Regions from separate parts of the Homo sapiens genome. Here all the other regions are linked to region 2. The links are contacts of gene promoters, found by promoter capture Hi-C in human tissues and cell types (Jung and others, 2019). All regions are on one chromosome and are shown on one strand. The core of a region is centred on a gene start or on the middle of the fragment in contact, and the rest is flanking DNA. Distances in the headings are between cores, read along the strand shown.

Region 1 (3,227 bases), core at 464-2,963, 1.3 Mb after region 2:
AAACTAAACAAAACATATTAGTAAAGATATAGATAATCTGACAAACACTATAAACTACCTTGGTCTAATTGATGTTTATAGTACAACACACCCAAGATATACAGAATACACATTCTCTTCCAAGTGCACGTGACACATTCAACAAGATAGACCATAAAAATAATTTCAAATCAACAAGATAGACCATAAAAACAAATTCAACAAATCTTTAGTTAGGTAGATTATACAGAGTAACTTATCTGATTATGCAATTGAAATATAACAATCTAGAAGACTCTAAACATTTGAAAATTAAACACACATCTAAATAATACAGGTCAATAAAGCATAAAATAATTATTTTGAGCTGGATAATAAAAATACAACAAATTAAAATTTTTTAGATATGTAAAAAATAAATGCCTATATTAGAAACTAAAGGTCTAAAATCCATTACTTAAGTTTTATTTTAAGAAACAACAAAAAGAAAAGCAAAGTAAACACAAAGATTTTCTAATAAATATTAGATTAAATGTCAATGAAAGAGAAATCAGAGAAATGAGGAAAAATTAAATGAAGAGATGATTCTTTGAAAAGATGAGCAAAATTGATAGACTGATAGAGGAAAAAAGATTAAGAACATAAAGTAGTAATATCAGGAATGAAAGAGGGATTATCATTGCAGATTCTACAAATATTAAGTGAACAGTAAGAATATTATAAACAAACTTAGGTCAAAATTTAATTAAAACAAACACATTCCTTGAAAATAAAGCTTACCAAAACTGACACAAGATAAAACAGAAAATATCAATAGTTCTACCTCTGTTAAAGAAGTTGAATTTGCTGTTAACAATCTTCACATGAAGAAAATTCCTGGGCCAGGTGGGTTTCTAGTGAATGCTATCAAATATTTAAGGAATAATTATTACCAATTTTATGCAATCTCTTTCAGAAAGTAGAAAAAGAATACTTCCAAACTTCTTTTGAGGCCTTCAAAACTCTATTCAAAACCCAGCAAAGAAATTACAAAACAAATACATAAATGAAACTACAGATCAATATCGCTCTTGAACATGGATACAGAAATCCTTAGCAAAATATCAATTCTAGCCCTATATAAAAAGGATTTTATATCATGACCAAGTGGGGTTTATCCTAGAAATGCAAGGTTAGTATAACATTTGAAAGTCAGTCAGTTTAATTCATCATAACAATAGAATAAAAGAAAAAAATCATGTGATAATTTTAGTTGATGCAGAAAAAAGTATTTGATGAAATTTAACACTGTTAAAAGAACAACTTTAGACAAGTTATATTTAACAGAGTTTAATTGAACAAAGAACAATTCACAAATCAGGCAGCCCCTGAAACCAGAATAGTTTCAGAGAGACTCTGCACTGCCACATAGCCAGAGAGCATTTATGGATAGAAAATGCAAAGTGATGTACAGAAAATGGACGTGTGGTACAGAAACTGCTGAATTGGTTACAGGTCGGTGTTTGCCTTATTTAAACAGGGTTTGAAAAGTTGGTCGCCTTTGATTGAATGAAGCTCAGAGATTGGTATAAGGGTAGGCTATAGTCTGTTTACACATCCAGTTAGGTCACAGTTCACTGTGTATGGAGAAACTTGTAGAGTGAACTTAAAATGTGTAAGGTGGCAACTTTAGGCTAAACTTGATTTAATAACATTGTTTCTGATTAAAAAAAATTTAAACTAGAAATAAATGAAAACTTCCTCACTCTGATAAGGGGTATCAAAAAACACCTACAGCTAACATATCACTTAGCAGTGAAACATTGAATGATTTCTTTCCAAAATCAGGAATAAGGCAAGGAATTCCTAGCTCACTGCTGGTATTATTAAGCACTGAAATCAGAAAAATTAATTTCAGCTATAAATTTTAGAGCAAGAAATACAACCCTCTATTTGCTGCTGATATCGTTGTCTACATGGAATATTCTAAGGACTTTGAAAAATAATAGAATTAATAAGTAAATTTAGCAACGTCACTGCATTCGACGTTAGTATAAATAAAAATTGTGGGTTTATATACTATAAAAAAATTAGAAAACAAAATTTAAAAATTAAAAATTTTTTTTCAAAATAGTATCTAAACTATTTTCAAAATAGTATCTATTTTCAAAATAGCATCTAAACTAGTACTCTTTTTTCAAAATGGTATCATTTTAAAAAATGAAGACTTGTACTTTTTTACTGTGGTTAGGTATACCTAATGAAAAAATTTGCTACTTTTTAATTCTGGTTCAATAGACATAATGACAAATTTTCTGTTTTAATCATTGTATGTATATAGTTTATTGGCATTAAGTGCATTCACACTGTTGTGCAACCATCTTCACTGTTCGTCTCTAGAACATTTTCATCATCACAAACTCTGTACCAATTAGACAATAACTCCCCATTTTCTCCCTCCCTCTACCCCCCGAAAACCATTGTTTGATTTTCTGTCTCTATAAATTTGGATGCCCTAGGTACCTCATAAAAGTGGAATCACATAATATTTGCCCTTTGTGACTGGCTTATTTCACTTGGCATAATGTCCTCAAGGTTCACCCTTGTGTAGCATGTGTCAGAATTTCCTTTCAAGGCTGAATAATATTCCATGTGAGTGCTGCTTTATCACCTCCATTGGAACCTTCCAGAAAAAAATGTGGTATTCTCTACTCTCCAAGACAGCCATCCCACTACTCTCAAGTCTGACTGTTAAGATAATCTTGGGTTGAACAGCAGTGATCTTGCCATTACTGCTAATTGATTTGCCCTTTCATCACTAATTTATTTCACTTAGCATAATGTCTTCAAGGTTCATTCATATTGCAGCATATGTCAAAATTTTCTTCCTTTTTAAAGCTGAATGATATAGACCTATATTTTTAAAACTGCAAAAAATTTGCTGAGTGAAATTGCAAAGCTGCTAAGTTAGTGGATAGGTATCCTGTATTATTGAACTGGAAGATTGAGTATTTTAAAGTTGGCAATATTCCCCAGAATGATCTATAGAATCAATGAGTTTCAAGATTGCTGAAGGTGTTTTATTAGAAATTGACACCAGCTTATCCTGAAATATATAGGTAAAGGACCTAGAACCTCCAAGGAAATCTTGGAAGAACAAAATTGAAGGACCTTTCACTATCCATCTTTAAGACTTATTGTACAGCTCAAATAATCAAGAAAATATGGTACTAGCATTCAGGATTCATTATTAGGTCAACACAACTGGC
Region 2 (3,366 bases), core at 867-3,366:
AATTGAAAACCTCTGCGCAACTATTGTTTATCCCTTATTAGGCAGAACCACATGAAATTGTTCTATTTGTAGGTTTTAAAAATGGTCAAACATTGGCTATTTCATATGGTAGAAACTAACATCTCCTTCACATTTTATTTATACTAAAAATAAAACTCGTCTAGAATGCACATCACTGGGAAAAATATTAAAGATGAGCTAAGATGAAGTTTTAAAATTAACCACAGATTTCAATGACTTTTATATTTTTATATCACCCAGATATTTAAAAGCTTGGAACCAGACCAATGGTTTTCACCCTCAATGAAGACTGGAATCACCTGTGGGTTTTTAAAACCTGAGTGCCTCTACCCAAACCCCCATAAGCTCTGATTCTGTGAGACTAAGATAAAAGCTTAGGAATATATATTTGTAGAAGGCTGATGCACAGCCAAGGTTGAGAACCATTGATACTACCTGTCCTATGGCTTTCTTTCACATTCATTCAATCTCAGAAAATACTTAACACTTTGGTGATTTTATATACATAAAGTAGTGAAGCACCTGGATTTCAGTTCTTTCCAGAGTTTAGAATGCTTGGCTGTGTATTAGGTCGGAAAATTCTTTTTCCCATGGAAATTATGTCTCACTGAATGGGTCTCTCTCTACTGTACCTAAAAGAGAGGCTTAGGTTTGACTTGTACACAGCTCCATGGACTCAGAATTAAAGTATCAACAAGAGCATTTAATGGTTACACGCAGGTATTTTTTAAAGTACCTATACACATATTATTATTATATATTACCCAGTAGGGGAACTAAGCATGTAATTAGTGACCAGAACAACAGGTGTGCATGTATACACTGAGAAACGAAATTGTTTTGAAAAACATTTTTTTTTTTTTGCTGATGACCAAGACACACAAAAATGTCTAAGTAGTCATCATGGGAAGAATCCGATTTTTGTACTTCCTCATTTTACAGAGATTAACATTATATATGAGTGACTGGGTGGATGTGGTACCAAATACATTTGTAAACTGAAGGCCTTTAAAAGTCAATCCAGTCTTGAGCCAGATTTATTCCCGAGGCTATTCCCTTACCCCTTCCAGCCACAACTGTATCCGTATTTTCACACGCAGGAAAAAATGTTTAGAAACTTAATTTTTACGAGCTGTCGAATTGTATTGCTATCCACGTGATTCCCATTATCATGTCTGCTTATAGCATCCCCAGCACCTACAGCTAGGACATAGGTTCAGAAGTTGAAGGAACCTGATTCTCAGGCACTGTTAATTATTAGGCCCTATCACAGGCTGTCAACAGGCTCCAAGTCTAGGCAAATTGAAAGCCTCCTATCCTGGAAGCCAGACAGGCTTTCATCTGACCTCCTCCGGTGCAATCCTGGCTCCCAGACTTTGTTCCTAACAACCCCTTGGGGACGTTGCCTATTGGGGTTTAAGCCACTCCTCCTCCCCTACACCCCCATGCCAAGTATTTAGCCACCTGAACCACCCTGTAGGATAAGACAACTGTATCAACCGTCGGAATTCCCCCACAAAACCCATACATCTCAGGGTGCGAAGGAACAAGTTTCAACCTCACCCTGGGCAGCGTTCTCTGGCCCAGGTGGAGAACCACACAGGAGGACAGTGGTCCTGCTCTCCCTACTAAATGGTGGTTCAGGAGGCCAGGGGGCGGGGCGGTACCGGCGGCAGAGGCCCACGGACGAGCTCGCAGGAGCTCATCACACAGCTGACCGTCACCTGCCCACCTCACCACACCTGCTAGGTGCCAAACCCCTTGTAATGGACAGGGAAGGGCTCAATCACGGGTCCCTACTCTTAGCAGCGAACCTATCTCAGCGCACGGCCTCCTGGGAGATGTAGTCCAGACCGCTTCCCGGGAACCCCCCCCCCCTCCCCCCCCGCCCCGCCACAACCAGGCATCCCTGGTCCCCTCACAACTTCCCCAGGAGAGATTGCTCGGCCTGGCCAGCTGAAGCTGGAGTTGCTCTCCAAGTGTCGGGGCCAGGCGGCACTCCGCGGAGGAGTCGGGGTGCTCTCCCCAGTCCGAGCGAAGGGAGGGAACTACACTTCCCAGGACGCCCTGCGCGCGCCGAGCCGGGAGCCGGCTGCCTCGCTTTGCGTGACCGCGGCAGGTTGGTCCTGGAGCAGATAAGCGCAGAATATTTAGGCGAAAGCGAGAGGAAGGGGGGAGCGCGGGGCAGGAGGAGTACCTCGGCCAAGAAAATTATGCATGCGTTAGGGAAGCTCTGAGAGAATGGCTGTGGAAGGTAAGGGACGCTTGGGGCATTTTTAAGCTCCCTCTTAACCCGCGCACCCCAAGGCACACATCCCCGATGAAGCTTGGCGATCGTGGGGAGGCGAGGAAAGGGGGTGGCGGAGAGCGGGCCCCTTCCTCCTCCACCTCTTGGCACTCACCTGCGCCGCCAAGGCCAGTAGGCGCTTTAATTCAGTTGCTTTGGAGAGACGTGAAGGGTAGGTGCGTAGGACTTTGAGGTAGGAGGTGTGGAGACGAGTGTCCCTGATGCGAAACGATATCCTGGAAATGGGGGGAAAGCCGGAGGATCCGGCATGAGGTTTTGGCCCCGAGATGCCCTTTTTCCCTGCCCCCTCCCTCCGGAGCAGGCTGGGTGGCCCCGGGGCTGGGGATGCTTGGTTGGCCCCCCTCACGTGGGAGAGGTCCCCAGCCCAGGTGCGTCATCCGGAAGCTTGGACTGGGATTGGGTCGAGGGCCCTTCGTCCTATGCACCCAGCAGCGGCGGCCGCAGATGTACCCAGAGGGTAGAGGTGTCCCTACACCTGTCTCTGCTTATACAGCCAGCGCCCCGGGCTTAGCAAAGTTTACAGACATGAAATGTAATCAGCCAGGGAAAAGAAGTGCAACAACCTCTTCGATTTGGGTGAATCCTTTTCTTTGAAGATCACTTTCTTCTTACAGTCTTGAGCTTCGGCTTTGCAGTTTTGACCGTAAAGTCCTGCCTCCCTTGAACTTCCTGGTTGAAAGCAGGGTCAGGCTGTTCGTGAGGGATCCTGAGTTTTTCATTTCAGGTTATCTTACCTTGGAACACAAACTTCCTTGTTTAGGTAGTTTCTGAAGAAGAAAAAAAAACTGTGGACCGGAAGGGTTTGTGATGTCACATTAGAGGTCAAGCTGTGCCTGAATGATGAAATGATTGTGGGACGAAATGGGAGCCTACATTCACCTGCAGAATTTTGGTTTCTGAGTGCAGTCAGGTCAGAGGGCGTACTGAAGTAGGAAGAGGAGGGCTTGCCTGCCAGCTGCTTCAGGCGCCTTGCCAAGGGGAAATCAGCCTATTCCTTGTAGGCTAGAGACGAGAAGGCCACGAGGCTGGCTTGCTGC
Region 3 (3,435 bases), core at 227-2,726, 1.3 Mb after region 2:
GTTTTTCTTGTTAAATCTCAGCTGTGTCATCTTTGGCTTTTTTGGCACTTCTATGCTGAGAGTAGCAGAGACATTCTTAGCTTAGCTTTTTTTTTTTCTTCAGTTTTGTAATTCTCTAGTTCACTGTTGGGTAAGAATAATTTCTAGGCAATTCACAACACATTTAGAATCATTTAGGAGAAGAAGGGGCAAAAAGACACATTCAATCCATGATAAACTAAAATCATTTCCTATTTCCTAGTGAAATAAAAACCAGTTTTCAAATCTGATTACCAGTTTGACTGACACCATGATTCAAGACTTGGACCTTCTATGGCATTCCGCACCAGCTAAGATAATCACTTCTCAACAGTCACAAAGGAACCCAAATGCTATTGTGGTTCTCTAGGTGGATTTTGATTGCACTTGGGCACTCTTTTAGGGCACTCTTTTAAGTCTGGCTTTTTGGTTTGGTTCTGCCTTTGCTGGGTTTTCAGCACATGAAATCCATCTCTGCTGAAGGCATTGTGGAGAGCGTGGGGGAACCACTAGATGGCAGGAGTGCACTACCTAAAATGGGAACCGCGATTAAGCGGCAAGCTTTGGCATTTCTCTGAACACCGGCGGTGAGGGGGTGGGGGGAGAGGGTAGCTGAGTATTGATTGGCCCAGTGACCCCTGTCTCCTCCTCCTCTCTTCCAACTCTAATTGCAATCCTGAATGCTGTTCTCCTGCAGCTTGTCAAGCACTTTGCCAGGATGGGTGGCTTTGAAAATTGTCCTGTTGGACTCCAGGGTGGGTCTGCAAGATGACAGAGCAGCTTTAGTTTAAGGTGTCTGAAAGGTTTTGTTTTGTTTGTTTGTTTTGTTTTGTTTTTCCCCAGCACCATGGTACTGGCAATTGTTTGAAGAAGGTCCTAAATATGCCTGGGTTTGGGAGTCTCGGCTTCTACTGGGAATGATACAAGAGGTCAAGGCTACTTGTAATGAATAAATCCTGTTCTCTGCCACGATTGTTATTTGCTCATTCATTTTCTCTTCCCTTCAGTGTGTATCTTTTTTTTTTTTTTTTTTTTTTTTTTTTTGACTGAGTCTCGCTTTGTCGCCCAGGCTGGAGTACAAGTGGCATGATCTCGGATCACTGCAACCTCCACCTCCAGGGTTCAAGCGATTCTCCTGCCTCAGCCTCCCAAGTAGCTGGGATTACAGGCACGCACCACTGCACTTGGCTAAGTTTTTGTATTTTTAGTAGAGACGGGGTTTCACCATGTTGGCCAGGATGGTCTCGATCTCCTGACCTTGTGATCCGCCTGCGTCTGCCTCCCAAAGTGTTGGGAGTACAGGCATGAGCCACCGCGCCCAGCCTTCAGTATATATCTTAATATACTTGCCTTACTTACTCACTAGCTCCTACCGTGAAATAGGTGCTAGGGATACAACCATAAATGAAACATAGGCCCTGCAAGAAGCTTACAATTGAGGTATGAGAGACACAGGCAGGTAGGCAATTAAGACAGGTGATCATTGCTACAATTAGGTTACAGGACTCTTTAGCATCACAGATAAACTTTCTCATGGGGGTAAAGACCACAAGGACATCTCAAGGACAACTAAGAGTGAGCCAGGCAAATAGTCAGGAAAGGAAAATTCTAACCAAGAGTCCAACCTAGAGATGAGAAGAATATAACCCAACTAAAATGAGAGACAGTGCTGTCACTTGGGGACTTAAGAAGTTGTCTAGCTGAAATATAGACAATGATGACAATGGAGGAGCAGGGAAGGAGAGCAAGTACCAGATTAAAAAGCGTCTTGCATTAGCCTAAATTTACCATATCCGTGGGGAGCCAAGAAAGCCAATGTACAATGTCCTGGTCACATTTGCTCTTTAGACAGGTCATTCTGGTGGCAATTAGAGAACAGGTTAGAGGGAGCCAAGAGGGGAGCAAGTTAAGCTCAGCATTTCTGATAGCCACAACTAAAGAGCAGCCAGGGGATAGACAGAAGCCGGTCAATGGGAAAGGGTTATTAGGCGAATAGAAAGGATACTTGGAGATTTAATTATATATGTGGGGTAAGATAGCAATACAGGAACTCCTCACGTGAAGTCGTTGATAGGTTCTTGGAAACTGCAACTTCGAGTGACACAATGTACAGCAGGTCCTCTAATAACATCCTTTTGTTCAACATAGTTTGTTAAAATGTTGATGAGGAAAAGGAATTGTTCCGTTATGCATTATGTCACTTCAAGTCACGGTTTCCCAGAATCTAGTGACGACCTTAAGTGAGGATTAACTATATTCTCAAGAATAACCTCTTGGCCTTCATCTGGGGAGACTGCAGAGATTATTTTGCCATTAACTGTGTATAATACTAGGCAGAAAGTTAATTCTAAACCCTGATAATGTGCAGTATGCTTTGTTAGAATGTAAATAGCATGAAACTATGGTTATTTAATGAATATTCATTAATTCAATTCATTCATTCAAACAACATTCATGGATCATTTACTTTTCATAAGGTAATATGCCAGGTCTGCATACCACAACAGGATGCCAAAAAGTTACTGTTTTCCAATCTTCAGGGGGCTTAAAGAACATTGTTTTCTTCTTAATAGATGATTTCTGTTGACTGATTTTTGCTTCTATTATATATTTTGAATTTTGACTACATATGATATTATTTTTAAAAGTCATTTTTATATAAACCTCATCACTTCACCTGGACAAAAATTTGCTTGGGGTCAGTTCAACAACCATAACATTGATACCTCCACAAAAAGCTGTTTGAAAATATTTGTCGAGTAAAATGAAATACAACTATAATTTTTATAATTTCTAAAGGTACTTTTGACACATAGTTTCGGAATCTCCTACCATTGGTATTATGAAAATTAAAAAAAAGAGAGAGAAAAAATAATTAGGTTGAGTTTCATCTAAAATCCTCTCCTTCTGGAGACATTCTCATAATATTGCAAGCAAGTAGAGCTGAAAAAATAGTAGAGTAACTGGATTCTATAATGTGAGAATTGGATATATTACTGAGAGTATCCCTAATAGCTAGGAAACCTTACATTAAATATACATACAGCAATGACCTGCTGTTTGTATGTCCTTAGTAAACATTTGCTGAGGTCCTGTGTGGTGGCAGTACATTAGGCACTGCTGATAACAGAGTTAACAAAACAGGCACAGTCCCTCTTCTCATGATGCTTAAGATCTAGTGAGGACAACAGATCTTAGACAAGAAAATACACACATACTATATTCCCATAATGAATATGAACCTGTGTTAATCCACCAAGAGGTTTTTTGCTCATGATCACACATTTGTGGAGGAAATATGTAATAATGCTCATGAGACAGAGAAAAACAAACACAAGGATGTGAATCCATTGCCTCAGTCATCATTACAGAGCTAGAATTCAGTCATTCATGGTCAAATGAAATAAACACCTAATG

Evidence for each region. The method cuts DNA at HindIII sites, captures the fragments that hold promoters and counts their contacts. A contact is called where the count stands out against the background at its distance.
Region 1: a contact is called between a fragment that was not itself captured here and the fragment with the promoter of SAMD12 in region 2, in 1 of the 25 tissues and cell types used here (lymphoblastoid cells).
Region 3: a fragment that was not itself captured here is called in contact with the fragment with the promoter of SAMD12 in region 2 in 1 of the 25 tissues and cell types used here (spleen).

What each region holds. Positions count from the first base shown.
Region 1 is chr8:117,365,084-117,368,310 of GRCh38, reverse strand. The region is part of intron 4 of LOC105375716 (a long non-coding RNA gene); the gene reads left to right. Among named protein-coding and RNA genes, the nearest start is that of MED30, 150 kb to the left of the region's middle. The HindIII fragment of the contact is 4,121 bases long and covers 1-3,227 here.
Region 2 is chr8:118,620,713-118,624,078 of GRCh38, reverse strand. It overlaps SAMD12 (sterile alpha motif domain containing 12), which reads left to right and starts at 2,116. Exons shown (of 4, transcript NM_207506.3): 1 at 2,116-2,275. The coding sequence starts at 2,263. It overlaps SAMD12-AS1 (SAMD12 antisense RNA 1), which reads right to left and starts at 3,078. Exons shown (of 5, transcript NR_038210.1): 1 at 2,893-3,078; 2 at 2,424-2,544. RefSeq lists a silencer at 1,774-1,923 and enhancers at 2,024-2,223, 2,834-3,043, 3,074-3,123. The HindIII fragment of the contact is 2,703 bases long and covers 1-2,530 here.
Region 3 is chr8:117,301,403-117,304,837 of GRCh38, reverse strand. All of the region lies in intron 4 of LOC105375716 (a long non-coding RNA gene), which reads left to right. The region is part of intron 4 of LOC105375717 (a long non-coding RNA gene); the gene reads right to left. Among named protein-coding and RNA genes, the nearest start is that of SLC30A8, 170 kb to the right of the region's middle. The HindIII fragment of the contact is 3,734 bases long and covers 1-3,343 here.